Regions from separate parts of the Homo sapiens genome. Here regions 1, 2, 3 and 5 are each linked to region 4. The links are contacts of gene promoters, found by promoter capture Hi-C in blood cells and fetal thymus (Javierre and others, 2016). All regions are on one chromosome and are shown on one strand. The core of a region is centred on a gene start or on the middle of the fragment in contact, and the rest is flanking DNA. Distances in the headings are between cores, read along the strand shown.

Region 1 (3,018 bases), core at 348-2,847, 1.4 Mb before region 4:
AGGGGTGTGGGTCCCCTCCAGGCCTGCCCAGCCACCTAGCAGCTGTTGCCATTCCAGGCTCAGAGTCCCCGCCTCCTGCAGATTTCTTCAAGCTTCATGCTGCCTTGAGGATAAACACGAGTGGAGAGTTGACACTTTTCCTTCCATGTCTTTATGTTCTCAGAATGTTCCAAGAACTTGGAATATTAACAGGGAAATACCAGGGTTTCTGCATAGAGGTGGATAAAATAGGCAAGAATTGTTCAGGTTCAGTCTTGAAAGGTAATGATTGAAAAGGGATATCCTTATAGATTATACAGTTTTGAAGGCTATGAAAGGGTTTCAGTAAATTGTCCATTCCCACCCCCAGAAAAAAATCACAGAATCACAAAACTTGGGTTTAGTTTTTTGAAGCTTGAGAGATGATTTTTGAAACTAAACAAAGGAAATATTAAAGATGTAAAAATGGCATAGTTTTGTGGTTTTGATATGTTGACTCCAAGAAAGTGATGCTGTGTTGAGAGAATAGGTTCCTTGATGACTGATCGCCAGTGAAGTGTTTATGGAAGCCAGGAGTGTTGGATGACATGAGGAGGGTAGGTGACATTGCTTCTATAATATGTTCTTTGATGCCTGTGCCAGAGAGGATGCAGACAGCAACTCAGTATTCACAATTTGAAGCAGACCTTATCATTTCTCTTTTAATCAGTAGTTCTGAACTTTTTGGTGTTCAGTAATTCGGGAAGTTGGCTTAGGTAACAAATAATGACAATAGTAGCGGTTAAGTTTGGGGATGCTTACTGTGGGGTTGTGCCAGGCAGAGGCAAATCCGTTTAACATGTACTAGTTTACTTAATCCTTAAAAAAGTCACTTGGCATTGTTGGGAAGAGAAGAAAGTCGTGTGTTAGGAGAGAATTGCAGAGGTCGTTAATGCCACTGTATTAGTCTGTTCTCACATGGCTATAAATACCTGAGACTGGGTAATTTATAAAGAAAAGAGGTTTAATGGGCTCATGGTTCCACAGGGTGTACAGGAAGCATGATGTTGTCATCTGCCCTGTTTCTGGAGAGGCCTCAGGAAACTTACAATCGTGGTGGAAGGCAAAGGGGAAGCAGGCTCGTCTTAACTGGCCGGAGCAGGAGCAAGGGAGTGGGGAGGTGCCACACACCTTGAAACAACCATATCTCACCAGCACACACTCATCATCACGAGAACAGCACCAAGGGGAAATCTGCCCCTCACGATCCAGTCACCTCCCACCAGGCCCCACCTCCAACATTGGGGATTATACTTCGACATGAGAACCAAGCCACATCAGCCAGAGGCTTCTTCCTGGTCCTTGCGTTGGTAACCAGGACCTTGCTTGTGAGACATTATTGGAAGATTTTTTGGTGGAATTATATTTTTAACTTTGGAGTCATTCTTACTGTAAAATATATTTATGCTGTTACAGTAATGAACATTTAATGATCACCTCTGTTTGCTAGACACCGTTCTAGTTGCTGGAGGTGGCTTGGTGAGTAAGGGAGGAGGGGCCCTGCTCTTAGGGAGTGTAATTCTAGTTGGGGAGACACTTAAGCAAAGGAATGAGCGTGTGAACAAATAAAACTGTCATGCGCAACAACTGCAGAATATCAGGGGGTGAGGTGAGAGAGCACCTGAGTGCTGACTTAGATTGGGTGATCAGAGCAGGCCCCTCTGCAGAGGTGACGCTTTTAGAGATTGGGTGATCAGAGAAGGCCCCTCTGCAGAGGTGACGCTTTTAGGATTTGCTCTCACAGCCAACGTGATACAAGCTAGCCACTCTTCTTTTTTTGTAGACAGAGTCTTGCTCTGTTCTCCCTGCTGGAGTGCAGTGGTGTGATTTCAGCCCACTGTAACCTCTGCCTCCTGGGATCAAGCAGTACTCATGCCTCAACCTCTCGAGTAGCTGAGATTACAGGCATGTACCACCATGCCTGGCTAATTTTTGTATTTTTAATAGAGACGAGGTCTTGCCATGTTGGCCAGGCTGGTCTTGAACTCCTGGCCTTAAGTGATCCACCCGCCTTGGCCTCCCAAAGTGCTGGGATTATAGGCGTGAGCCACCGTGCCTGGCGCAGTTAGTCAATCTTCTGAGGAAGACCAAACGTGGACGTCAGAATTGCTCTTCTGTTGACCATTTTCTTCCTTCTTACTGGAATTTCTTCTTATTTTATCTCTTATGTAGGGAAGCTGGGTGAGAATTGATCATGTTACTGGCGTTATCAACGGCCTTGCACAAGGCTGCTCACTCAAGCCTTCCTGCCTTTACTGAATGCAGTGCTAAGTGGCCGGGGAAAGTGCTGTGTGTTACCCTTAGGCCAGATTCACTTTCTGGAAGGTTCTAGAAGGTTCCTTGTTGGGAGATGATGGTGGCTACCCCAAGGGTCTGGCTCCGCTCTGGGAGGACTTGGGAGAACTCTGATGACGGATGGTGCCCAGGCCCCTGGAAGCAGAGCCTGCTGCTGTGTGTTTGAGGTAAAAATGGGAGACCTGCTTGTTGGGTACTTGGGACAAGAAGTTTGATTTGGGAATTTAATTTATGGCAGATAACAGATAATCAGTCTCAGTCTTTTCTGTTGCAGATATAAAAAGCAGCAGTGGTTATCTTTAATTTTTAAAAGCATTTTATCCTTTTTCTGTTGTTTGTGTCCATAAGAAAAATGCATGCATACCAAATATCCATCATAAAATAGGGAACTAAGAATTTTGTGTGCACTGGATTTTCTTTTTTTAAAATTATTGTTTGAAATCTGTTAAACAAGGGCTTGAACTCAAATGAAAGAACTGGCTTTTACTTTAAGCTTAAGCTCACCAATGCACTCTTAGAGTTACTTTTGTTCAGGGCTCTGTATAACCAAATGGAATTAGCCTGAGGAAGGTACGGTTTTTTCCACAGCATTTTGTTTGTGATGAGGAGGCTAAGATAGTTTAAACTGTGTGAGCTGGCACTGTTGTAACCATAAAGATTTGAGGTATTTGGGTTTTGGTTGTAGCCAAGCCTAGCTTGGGAGCT
Region 2 (3,113 bases), core at 588-3,087, 1.4 Mb before region 4:
GTCATTGAAAATGTTTTCCAAGGCAGAATTCTATTCTGATATTTTGGCTGCTGTGAGAAGGACAATTCTTGGAGTCTTAGGGTGACTTTCATCCCTGACTATGCTCCCATGTTTTGCCATCTCATCCAGGTTTTTGTTTGTGGGTTCTACTGCCTTCTCTGACAAAATTTCCTCCACATCTTCTTCCTTCATGTCATTGAAACCTTCTCCACTTATTTGCCTTGCAATATGCATTGTTTTTTTACATTGTTTTTTATATTTTCTGAAACACCTTCAAAGCCTTGAAAAGTTTTCACAGAGTCTGGCCAAATGTTTTCCCAGCAGTTATTGATAGTAGCCTGCTTGATGCTGTCCCACGCTGTGCCAACATAATCAATAATGCTGCGTATAGTGAGTGATTTCCAGTAGTCTGTCATGGTGGCTTCCTTGTTGGCGTCAAGAGCCTCACAAGCTTTACAATAAAGTTCCCTCGTGTAGTGTGCCTTGAAAGTTTGTATTATGCCCTGAGGGGCTGGACGAGAGATGTAGTATTGGGGGCATGAAAAGAACTTCTTTGTTGGGGTGAGCATTTTCAAGTTCATCGTGCAATGAACTGGGGCATTATCCAAAATTAATAAGACCCAGAAAGCAAGGTTTTTGCCCTAGAGATATCGTTCAACTTCTGGAATGAAGCAGTGGTGGAACCAATCCCAGAATATTTCAGATACCAGCCATGCTTTTCTGTTCTACCGCCAATGGACTGGCATGCAGTTCAGATTTTTCCCTTTAAGGGCTCATGGGTTTTGGGCTCTGTACACCATCAGAGGTTTGCACTTAAAGTCGCCCTTGGCATTGGTGCACAATAGCAAGGTTGAATGCTTTAAAGTCAGGGGCTCGTGTGACCATTTACATTACATAGGTTCATTTGCCAACATTCTTATAAAACAAGCAGTCTCATCAGCATTGAAAACCTGCTCTTTACCATAACCCTTTAACCCTTTTCACGTATAACACTTAGCAGACATTTTAAAAATTCTTCCGCAGCCTCCTTATGGCAGAACCTGCCTTGCCTGCAAGTTTAAAATTTGATTTCATGCTGTACCGCCTTTTGAAACGTGCCAGCCAGCCTGCACTGGCTGAGAAGGGTTTAATATTTTCCTGACCTTGGGTAACATGGCTGTAAATTTCTTTGGCTTTCAGCCTCACAACAATACTGCTCACTACACTACAAAAGTCCATATATGACTTTTTTTATTGGTTGTCGTCTCATGAATCCACAATTTTAGCTGCTTTTCCATCTTTTCCATAGCTTCATCACACACTATAGATGTTACTTTAGCACTTTCTGGAGCAGCCTCATGTACAGATGTGAATGCACTGTATTGTTGATTCATTAACATTGAACTCATGGCCAACAGCACTATAACTCATGCCCGAACAAAGCTTATCTAACACATGTATTTTCTCTGTTAAGACACATCACAGCCTTCTTGCGCTTAGGGACATTAGACAGCATTTCAGCACTACGTTTGGGGGCCATTTGAAACAGAAATCACCATCGGAAAGCATAGAAATTTGAAAAATGTGACACTAAGTAGAGTGAGAAGAGGACATATGTTTACAGAATGAGAACTAAAAAAAAAAGGCAGAGCATGGCCTTATTCAAGCACAGCTGGGAACGTGTACATAAGGTGATCCAAATTTTTCACTGTTCTGCTTGTGTCCATATATGACTGAGAGTGCTTCAAGTATTGATTTTTGGGTTACACATAATTTTTAGCCAAGTAGCTGAGTTCATAAATACAGACTCTTTGAATGATGATTGACTGTATTTGTAGAGGTTACTTGCCAAAAAAGAGTGTGTTTCAAGCATAAAAATAGACTATATGAGGATACAACTTTTTGGGTGAAGTGGAATGAATTAAAGGAGAAAGAATTAATGTCTGACTTGTTCAGAAACTTTTTAGATGGAGAAATGGGTATTATGTTTCTATTACACTTAGATTCTATTGGATATATTTTTTATAAAGGATGCAATGGTTTAATTTAAAAATGTCATCAGAATGTCAGAAATTACATCCTTTACAACTATTTAAAACTATGAAGAAAAAAATTAGGTATTACCTAGATATGTGATAATTTTTGAAAATTATTTTAAAGAGCAAAACGGATTAGGAAGCAGCTTTGCTTTTGCCATTCCACTGAAAAAATGTACAGTTTCGATGGAAACATGTCAGCACTTGCTTGAAGGAATTTTTCAACTATAGAAAGAAAAAAGCTTCATTTCATCCCTTTTGGCATTGCTGAACACTTGGTTTTGATGTATAATTTTAAAACACCTGAGCACCATAAAATGAAACCACAGTATTCCTGAGTAGCCTGGTGAAATGTCGTGATTTTCTCCTACAGTACAGAAGGACAAAAATGCCTTTAATGTCCTCAAATGCTAGAGTTCTAGATGACGCATTAGTTTAAATGTCAACGCTTAATGTCTTCACATGTAATTTGGAACATAAGTTTTCTTACAGTTAAAATAATCCTTAGAGCAAAAAACAAAATAAAGTTTTTCGTATGCCTCAGGCTTCTTAAAATTTTCTAGTAATTGGTACTGTTTCTGGTTTCCTTAGTTTCTTGCCGTGGGTAAGGTCCAAACACCTTACATGTGTTGCTGGTGGCCCTCACAATTCTACCTTGGACTAAAGCACTAGGGAGTCTGTAGGCGCCTTCCTGCGCTCCTCCACTGCGGTGGATCCACAATTTCTTCTCAGCTGACTTACTGGTTTTCATGTTAACTATTTCGGTTAATCATTCATGAAGCGCGTGGCTTATATTTGGGAAAACATTGCACCTTAATCCCAACATGCATAATTTATGTTGCTTAATTATTTTAAGTCATTGCATTAGAATAGTAACTGCGCTCTCCATGAGCCTAGGCTAGAAAGAAGGGAAAAAATCCCAGGTTCTCTCCCAACGATCAGGGGTTACTCAAGCCGCCCGAGTTCTCTGGGGCCCCTCTGGGCCAGGCTGCGTCCACTTGGGAGAGGCCGAGGACCTGGCGCCAAGAGGCGGCGGTGTCTGCGCTAGGGGCCGAGCGGGTGCGCTGTGTCTGCGGGGCCAGGCCAAGGACCTGGAGC
Region 3 (2,763 bases), core at 39-2,538, 1.3 Mb before region 4:
GAACACTCTGAGCTGGTGTGCATGTGGCCCCTGCACAGCAGCCCTGGCCGAGCTTGGCTGTGCTCCTGGCACTCAGAGTCAGGTAGCTGAGCACTCGCTCCCTTTTCTTCTCCCTGAAACTTCAAATATTTTCTTAAAGCAATTATTTTTTACTTATCTGTCATTTAATGACAACCTTAGTTTCCTCCTCTCTTTCCAGTTAGCTGTGCCAGGGGATAGGTCTGTCCTAGGGAGCAGCTGCCCCCTCCTCTCCTCCTCCCTCAGGAGCGTGCAGGATGTCTGTGCACACCAGCGCCAGCCTGCCTCCTGGTGACACCTCTCATCACAGGACTAACAGGACCCAAATGACACGAGGGGTTTTATTAGAATTAAAAAAAAAAAATTAGCCAATGACTAATACTGAAAATGCCCTATTGATTTTTAAAAATTAACGTTCAGAAGCTGGTAAAGAAAAATCAAAGTAGGAAAAGGCGAGAAGCTCTTATCAGTGGCTATAATAATTTGGGGTTTTATACCTTTACAGCAGCCTTTCTGATATGCCAGTGAAAATGATTGGCTTTAGAGTATGTTAGCATTTTCTTTTGTCTTTCCCTAGGATCTTAGTAAGAGCCCTAAGACCATGAAAAAGCTGCTGCCCAAGCGCAAACCTGAACGGAAGCCTTCAGATGAGGAGTTCGCGTCCCGGAAAAGTGAGTACCTGCGGTCCGTGTGGTGGAGGACGTGGCCTCCTGGTCACGTAGGCCATGGCTTTCCTGGGATAGAGGGAGGCTTGGTGGCTTTCTGAAGACTCCAAACAAAAGTAAGGTCTGCCCCTTGAGGCAGTGATAGGAATAAGCCACGTAACATTTACCCAAGCAAGCAGGAGAAGCGCCTTTGTGTCAGTGGTGAAGCCTCCGTGCCAGTCCCGGCACCACTGCCTTATAGCCCCTTCCTCATCCAGGAGCTGGGGCCGGACCTGGAGGGCTCTCCTGCTCTTCTGGTTCTCCCTCTCGCCTATAAGATATTCCACCCACACTTCCTGAAGTGCCAGCATCTCCCAAAGCACCCTGTGTCTGTTAGAAGCGTGACCTGCTGTGTTCTCCTGTGGGTAGCACCCACCCGTGCTGTTCTCTTGCTGGTCTCTCTGCTGTTGGACCTGTCCTGTCTGCTCCTCAGGCCTAGGGGTCTGACTCAGCTCTGGGTTCCTATGTGGCCTCGCAGCAAGCACCTGGCACCTGTTAGGTGCTCGGTAGATAGCTTTTGAATAAGTGGAGCTCTTTTCAGAAGTAAGTGATTTTCCTGGGGGTGACTGCTGGGAAGGGGTGCACGTGAACAGATTGCTGTGGACTGATGGGTGCAGCCCAGGGAGAGAGAGCCAGCTCTGGGAAAGTTGCAGGATCTGTCCTACAGGGCTCTGCCCTGCCCCGCCCCTGTGTCTGAGCTCAGCCTTTGTTGGTCCTTTGCCTTCACTGCTCACTTCCTCCAGCCTCAGGAGGAGGCCCAGCAGCCGTCCCACACGCTCACTGTGCCATGCCACTGCTGGCCTCCCCTCACCGCCACCTTATCATCAATCAGCCCAGTGAGGTGACCGTGCTGGGGTGTTCATTCTTTTCTTGTCCTTGTCACCTGATGTCCATGGCAGTATAAGTCACCATCCTGACTGTCCTTCTCCTTAGGTAGTCCAGGTCCCTGACCACCAGGGCCCCTGATGAGATGGTGAGGCCCTGGGGTCTAGTGATTGAAGTGGAGCTGGTGCTGGATGCCTGCTCTGTTGCTTACTGGCTGTGCCGGGGCTTCTCTCTGAGAGGGCTGTTCTGTGGGCCACTTCCTTCAGCAGATCCAGGGGCAGCACTGAGCTGGGCCGGGGGCCGGCTGCAGCTGAGACCATCGTTCATGGACGCGTGCTTCATCAGCACCTTCGTGGGCTGGGTGGGAAGGATACAGTGTGGCCGAAAGAGATCCCTGTTCTCATAGAGCCTATGTTTTAGTAGGAGGATACAGACAAGAAACAAAACAAGTGAACAATGTGTGGGCCATGGAGTGCTGCAGAGACCCAGTGGGGAGGACAGGTGGGAGATTCGGTGCCAGGGCGCCATTTGAGCAGCCTCCTGGGGCTGAGGAAGCAGGCCAAGCAGGTGTCTGGGGAGGAGCTCTCCAGGCCTGGTTGCAGAGACCCTGAGCAGGAACCCCAGGCTGTGCCCAAGGGACAGTGCGCTGTGTGGGCCCAAGCTCCCCTGGCAGAGCGGGAGGTAGCACAGCACCCTGAGCAGCAGGCAGCCAGAGTCCGGTTCCATAGACAAGATGATGGGCCCGGGTTTTCACAGGACCACGGGCTGCCGTGTGGGGAACAGACAGGCACGGATGGCCACGTCGACACTGAGAGTTGTCGGCCTTTTGTTTTCATCTGGCTGGCGTGTGGAAACACGAAAATGTTTTAATTTTCATTTCTTGTTTTAGCGAGATTGGACATTTTTTCTTAGAACTCTTCTTGTTTTGTGACTTCCTTATTCCTATCTCCTGCCCTTTTTTCAGTTTGAGAGTGGGGATACTAATTTTCTTACGGGTTGGTAGGATAATCATTATAAAGTTAGGATGTTCGCCGTTTTTCCAAATGTGTTGCAAATATTTTTATTTGCATTTATTTTATTTTATTTTGAATATAACTCATGAATTTTGTAGAAAACAGTTATCTGACAAGAAAATCAAGGGCAGATTATCTTACTTGGTCACTTTGGTCGAGTTGATGTCTGCATTGCATTCGTCTCGCCAGTTGCCCTAGAGGCC
Region 4 (2,925 bases), core at 295-2,794:
ATATCTCAGAGGCTTTCCCTCACCTGCCTCTTCCCTCTCTATTCCTTTACCCTACTTTTTCGCCACAGTACTTATTGCTAATTAACATGGCTGGTTTATCATCTGTCTCTTCCAGTAGAGTGTCTGTCAGATCTGTGGGAGGAATGACTTGTGCATCTGCATCACCAGCACTTAGCACAGTTCCCGGGGGGAACTTTGAGGACGGGGTTGTCCTCAAAGATTTCTTAGATAAATAAAGTGATAGAATCAAACTTTACAAGATGCAGCAAGAACTGTGTGAAGTCACTCATTTAATAGCGACACAAAATTATTCATGATTGCCCCAAGATTATCATAGAACATCCAATGAATTATGTACAGTAATTGTCATGAAGCATGAAAGGTCAAAATGCATTCTCAGTACTTTAAATGTAACTTTGAAGTCTTCCTTCAAAAATTGAGTAACTTCTTTTCCACATTTTGGTGCTTAAGATGTAACTCAGTTGCTTCCATTACTCAGAAAATTCCCTCATGGTGCATCCTCACTCTCTGCCCCACCAACCTGGCCAAAACAAGGAGCAAGAAATGGCATCCTGTACCATTTCTTTCAAAGTACCTCGACTACAAAATGGTTTTACCTACCGTATAGGATTAGTTTTGCTTATTAGTAACAATATTCGCCATGTGAACTTTCCCAGAATAGTTTTATATCAAATCCAACCTTCAACCCTTTAAACAGTAGGAAAACACGGCAGTTACAGTCGTTAACACCCTCTTCCCATAATACTCAAGCCTGTTAAACTTTCCTAACGAAAAGGGACGATGATGTGACACTCCAGCACCCCGCATCCACCTCCGCGGCGCAGCCGCTCTCTCCACCCCACAGGATGAACCCAAAGGCGCGCAGAGGCGCCCTCCCACGGCGCGTGACACCAGAGAAGGGGGATAAATTGGCGAGCTGGCATTCCTCCCGTCCTCACTGACGGACCCGCGAGCGGAGTGAGCGGTGACTCAGCCCGCTCCGGCTCGGCTCCGCCCTCCCGCCTCCCGCCCCGGCGTTCTCGCCCCGGCCTTGGCCTCTCCACTCCCTCCGCCCCGGTCCTGGCCCCCAGCCCTCCGCTGTCCTCCCCGGCTCCCTGACCCTCGAACCCCAGCCCTCCGCTCCCTCGTCCGGGCCCCACGTCCTCGGCCCGTCCCCCAGCCCTCTGCCCGGCCCTGCATCCTCGTTCCTCCAGCCCCGGAACGTATTAGGGCTGCACGCGCAGGGAGCAGCCCCCGGGACGGGTCTGCGGGCTTCGCGTCGCCCGGCCACTCTACCTTCGCTCCTGCCCAGGATCCTGCAGCACAGGTTCTGCAGCAGAACGTTCGGCGACTTCTGGTCCGGGGTCGCCATCCTCGCCCGGAGCCGTGCACGGTGGTCCGGGCAGAGCCGCCACTGCCGCCGCACGCGCAGGGACCGCGGCCCGCGCCCTTCCTGCGCCCCGCAAGCTCCCTGCTCCTGACAGGCTAAGGCGCGGGCGCCGCCGGCCACCAGGGCGCCATTTTAACGGAACCCGCCGAAAGCGCGGGCGCTTCCCACAATGCCCCGCTTCTTCCCTGCGCCGCGGCCGCGCGTGCGGCTGCCTAAGCGTTCCCGGCCCTGTCTGGTGCATTCCCCCTGCTGCTGCCCGGTCGGCCGAGAAAGTTCCGGGCGACAGGTGGCCCGAGGCCCTCGAGCTGCGCGGACAGAGCGGCCCCGGAGTCGCGAGCGTGACGGGCTTGCTTGGAGGGCACTTGGTGGCCGGTAGCACCATAAAGGCCATAATTTGGTGTGTGGGTGTGGGGGTGTGTGTGTTAACGGCATTGGTTTGATTCACACTTCTGATGAAAGAAGCCTGTTTAAAAAAGAAAAGAAAAAAGAAGCCTGTTTAAAGGGTGCAGGGTGTTACGATTGTTAACGTGCAGTGGGCAGTTCACCTGCTACGCTATCCAACAGGCGCCCTGCTCAGGCCCGACCTCGCACTGCCGCGCGGGCCGGTCCCCCCCGGCCCGGGTAACTGGGACGTCCTGGGAAAATAAATTAATCACGTACGGAGTGAGAGAACAGGAAACCTGCCGAGAAAAAGATCGATAAGCAGACAATTACACCAAGCCAACTTCAGTGCAATCGTTAAAGCTTACACATGGGTGCACGCTTGGGAGCCGTGAGCTACCATGTTAAAAGGCCAACTTCCTAAGGAAAAATGATGGAAAGAGATCCCGAGATCCTATGAAATGGAAGAGGGAGGACAACCCAGCTATCCCAACATCCCAGCTGAGGCCAGCCACACACGTGACTGTCTGCAAAGCCCGTCGGGCCTGGGTCCAGCTCAGGTTGCAGAATTGTTGGCAAGTAAAACGTTTGTTGTCGTTCTGACTCAAAAACATGGAGACAAAGCAGACTTGTAGGGTATTACAGTCAACAACTAGACCCTACAGCTAAAGGACTGTCTCCTTGCATGATGCAACAACCATCACAGCTCTGCAAGAGCAACCAAACCACCAAGGATGCGATCACCCCTCACTGCCTTCGATACGCATTCTGTGGAAACGCTTCTAAACTTGCATCACACTCAACACGATCAGTTAGTAACTGGCTTCTCATGAAGTTATTCTCTCAGCCGCATACTACAATGTCCAGATGTCATCTAAATCCTGCCACCCTCTCCCCCACCTTCAGCTGAAACGCTGCATGACTGCATCATCTTACCTGACCAGCTCTCTCCTAGGACAGACATGCAAGAACCCCCCTCACTAACGCTGATGTTATTTGGTTTACAGATGGCTCTTACTTAAAGATGCAGCTGGAAGGTATTACACTGGTTATGCCATAGCGTCTTTGCCCAAAGAAATAGAAAGTGCTTGTCTTCCAGGAGCAATCATCTCAACAAGCAAAGTTAATAGCATTAATTAGAGCCTGTCAGTTGG
Region 5 (3,023 bases), core at 446-2,945, 1.1 Mb before region 4:
CTGGTCAGGAAGCAGGGCTGGGGACAGGCAGGTGTTTTCCCATGAGCAGTTTGCATGGAGATGCCTTTCCTGCCCCCAAGAGTGCAGGTGCCGATGTCTGTGTACGTGCTGTGCACGTGGGGGTGCAGACTTGGCACAGCCCTGCACAGTCACTGGATGGGCAGCGGCAGACGTGGAACAGGTCAAACTGCCCTTTGTCTGCAGACTGGGCAGACCTGAGGGACGTGGGGAGAATCAGGCAGGACTCACTGCTGCAGGGCTTCCAGTCACTTTGGGAACCCAAAGGAGCTTCCAGTGCTGAGCCCACTGCAGGCCGTGTGCGGGCAGGGCAGGGACTGAGAGCAGGGGCTTTCCACCAGGACTTCTGCCTGCTGCAATGAGACGGGGCCAGGCAGGCATGAAGCGGAGGCCAGGGGGCTGTGCCAACCTGGAAAAAGTACACATGTAGAAAGTACATGAAGAACGTGATTACCTACAACAGCCCCAGCCAAGCACAGCTGTTCACATTGGGCCCATTTTCTAGGAGTGTGTCTAAGTGGGTGTGAATGGCTGTGTTCAGACTGCATACTCTTTGTATTGTCCCATTTGTCAATGAAAAGTAAGTCCTTCACTTTGGACTGGAAGTCCAACTTTTTTTTTTTTTTTTTTTTTTTGAGGCAGAGTCTTGCTCTGTTGCCCAGGTTGGAGGGCGGTGGTGCAGTCTCGGCTCACGGCAACCTCCACCTCCCAGGTTCAAGTAATTGATTTTCCTGCCTCGGCCTCCAGAGTAGCTGGGATTAGGGGCACCCACCACCATGCCTGGCTAATTTTTTTTGTACTTTTAGTAGAGATGGGGTTTCACAATGTCGGCCAAGCTCGTCTTAAACTTCTGACCTCAAGTGATCCATCTGCCTTGGCCTCCCAAAGTACTGGGATTACAGGCGTGAGCCACCACGCCCGGCCTAGAAGTCCAACTTTTTACCCTTTTGTCCAGACAAGACCTAGTCTTTTTTAGGGGGAGGTTCTGATTAGTGAGTGTAGATTTGCACTTGGTACTGAGGCCTGGTCATGTTTTTAAAGTGTTTCATTGATAAGCTACGGGTGCATGAAAATGTCTTATAATCACACCAGTGTTTGCACCTTAATGTTGTCGTGGGGTGAAACAAGGCTCTATCCATTCACGCTTGGACCACAAGGTCACCTGTGCTTGTTCCCTGCAACTTTGATGTGGGGCTGGTAGGAGACCTCCTGCTATGGGACAGGGGCCAATTCGGGGAGTGTCGAGGTCCCCCTCCGCCAGAGGGAAGCTGCAGCCCCAGTGAGGGGTCAGGAAACCCCGAGTGCTCGGGAACAAGGCTCCAGGGAGTCACTGTCCCAAGCTGGGGAGTTTTCTAAAGGTGTTCGTTGTTGTGGATGGAAGCGACGTTGCTGCCGGACTGGGACGCAGGTGCCAGGGGATACAAGCGAGTTCCGGCTTCACCCACTTTCTTGGTGCCTGTTAGGGAGGCGGGAGCTGTGAGTGTCCTGGAACCCTGCATTTCTTCTCTTGGCTTCCTTTTTATTCTAGAGCTCATGGTCTCTGATGGAGGCTGATTAAATCCCTGGATCTGGTATTTCTAAAGAGTGAGGTTTCTTGTCTTGCCACCAGATGTCAGTAAAATCCCTCTTAAAATAAATGTGCTGCTGGGCAGGTGGATCCAGAGAAGGGAGTCCTGTCTAGGATTTGAGGCTTGGCTGAGGTGCCGGAGAAGGCTGTGGTCCTGTGTGCTGATATGGGCAGCTCTGGTCCCCAGGCTCCTTGGGGAGGCCTGACTCTGAAAGCTCCCCCAACTTGCCTGCCTTGCAATCCCAACTCTGCTGGCACCCTCGCTTGTGCAGGAGGCCACTGCAGTGCAGGCGTGGGACGCGGAGCTGCTGCTGAGGGACCGGGGAGGGGCCCCACGCTGGGGTCTCAGCACTCAGGTTCCTCTGCTTCCGGCAACACCTCGGGCTCCATCTGTGCAGGATTTGTTGCAGGAACAGGGGAGGCTTTACAGGGCTTTGTTCAGCGTGGTTCTGCCTGAGGGCGATGACATTTTTATTTATTTTAATTTATTTTTTTGACACGGAGTCTCGCTCTGTTGCACAGGCTGGAGTACAGTGGTGCGATCTCAGCTCACTGCAACCTCCGCCTCCCGGGTTCAAGTGATTTTCCTGCCTCAGCCTCCTGAGTAGCTGGAGGCTACTCAGACGTGCGCCACCACGCCCAGCTAATTTTTGTATTTTTAATAGAGACAGGGTTTCACCATGTTGGTCAGGCTGGTCTCGAACTCCTGACCTTGTGATCCGCCCGCCTCAGCATCTCAAAGTGCTGGGATTACAGGTGTGAGCCACCACTCCCAGCCAACATTTGTTAATATAACTGCAGAGCCACATCGCGTCCACACCAGGGATGCTGTCGGGGTGACTCTCCATAGGCTGGAGAGGACCCCAGGAGACAGGGGAGGGATGGTGCTGACGGAGGTAGCAGAGGGCCCCGGGTGCAATCCCTATAATTCCCATGCTTTGCCACTTTACCTTAGAAATAGGGACCATCTCTGGATTGTATTTATTGCTCATGAAACAGTTTCACGCCTCTTTTCCACTTGTTCCAGCAGAAGCGTGTGGGTGGCACTGATTCCATTAACGTGTTGTCATCTTATTTACTGGGTTGATACTGATTCCAGAAGCTCTGGGCTGAGAGTGGCCCAGGGTGGGCCTAGCTGTCCTGCTGGGGGCTGGGAGGGCGGCGAGGTGACTGGATGTGCAGGCTTTAGGTAGAGCTGCACTTAAGTCCCAGCCACACTCGTGATTCCTGGATCACCCTGGGAAGTGTCCTGATCGTCCATCTTGCTCCTGTATCTCTAGAATGGCAGCAGTAATGCCTCTGCCATCAATATTTTGAAGTTTAAACAGATACTATCTGAGCTGTAAGAGCAAGAAGTCATGGTGAGCTCTGCAGAAGAGTGAGGAGGGACAGGAGCTAAGAAAGGGCCGAGCCAGCCCTGTAGGCCTCCCACGGGCTT

The links. Contacts are between HindIII fragments. The CHiCAGO score rates a contact against its expected background, and 5 or more counts as called.
Region 1: a contact is called between a fragment that was not itself captured here and the fragment with the promoter of TUBGCP3 in region 4, in 1 of 17 cell types (M1 macrophages). The highest score is 5.2, in M1 macrophages.
Region 2: a fragment that was not itself captured here is called in contact with the fragment with the promoter of TUBGCP3 in region 4 in 1 of 17 cell types (naive CD8 T cells); the score reaches 5.3 in naive CD8 T cells.
Region 3: a contact is called between a fragment that was not itself captured here and the fragment with the promoter of TUBGCP3 in region 4, in 2 of 17 cell types (M1 macrophages and endothelial precursors). The highest score is 7.1, in M1 macrophages.
Region 5: a fragment that was not itself captured here is called in contact with the fragment with the promoter of TUBGCP3 in region 4 in 1 of 17 cell types (endothelial precursors); the score reaches 5.4 in endothelial precursors.

What each region holds. Positions count from the first base shown.
Region 1 is chr13:111,168,318-111,171,335 of GRCh38, forward strand. All of the region lies in intron 2 of ARHGEF7 (Rho guanine nucleotide exchange factor 7), which reads left to right. Among named protein-coding and RNA genes, the nearest start is that of ARHGEF7-AS1, 21 kb to the left of the region's middle. The HindIII fragment of the contact is 2,413 bases long and covers 392-2,804 here.
Region 2 is chr13:111,150,268-111,153,380 of GRCh38, forward strand. The region is part of intron 1 of ARHGEF7 (Rho guanine nucleotide exchange factor 7); the gene reads left to right. It overlaps LOC101060553 (a long non-coding RNA gene), which reads right to left. Exons shown (of 2, transcript NR_120398.1): 1 at 1-3,113. Among named protein-coding and RNA genes, the nearest start is that of ARHGEF7-AS1, 3.3 kb to the left of the region's middle. The HindIII fragment of the contact is 835 bases long and covers 1,421-2,255 here.
Region 3 is chr13:111,285,552-111,288,314 of GRCh38, forward strand. It overlaps ARHGEF7 (Rho guanine nucleotide exchange factor 7), which reads left to right. Exons shown (of 22, transcript NM_001354046.2): 17 at 596-689. Among named protein-coding and RNA genes, the nearest start is that of TEX29, 34 kb to the right of the region's middle. The HindIII fragment of the contact is 3,119 bases long and covers 1-2,763 here.
Region 4 is chr13:112,586,609-112,589,533 of GRCh38, forward strand. It overlaps TUBGCP3 (tubulin gamma complex component 3), which reads right to left and starts at 1,545. Exons shown (of 22, transcript NM_006322.6): 1 at 1,297-1,545. The coding sequence starts at 1,372. LOC124903251 (a long non-coding RNA gene) reads left to right here and starts at 1,578. Exons shown (of 2, transcript XR_007063945.1): 1 at 1,578-2,808. RefSeq lists silencers at 1,016-1,135, 1,166-1,225, 1,256-1,475 and an enhancer at 1,541-2,360. The HindIII fragment of the contact is 2,856 bases long and covers 1-2,132 here.
Region 5 is chr13:111,473,003-111,476,025 of GRCh38, forward strand. No RefSeq gene overlaps it. Among named protein-coding and RNA genes, the nearest start is that of LINC02337, 120 kb to the right of the region's middle. RefSeq lists an enhancer at 1,864-2,364. The HindIII fragment of the contact is 7,350 bases long and covers 1-3,023 here.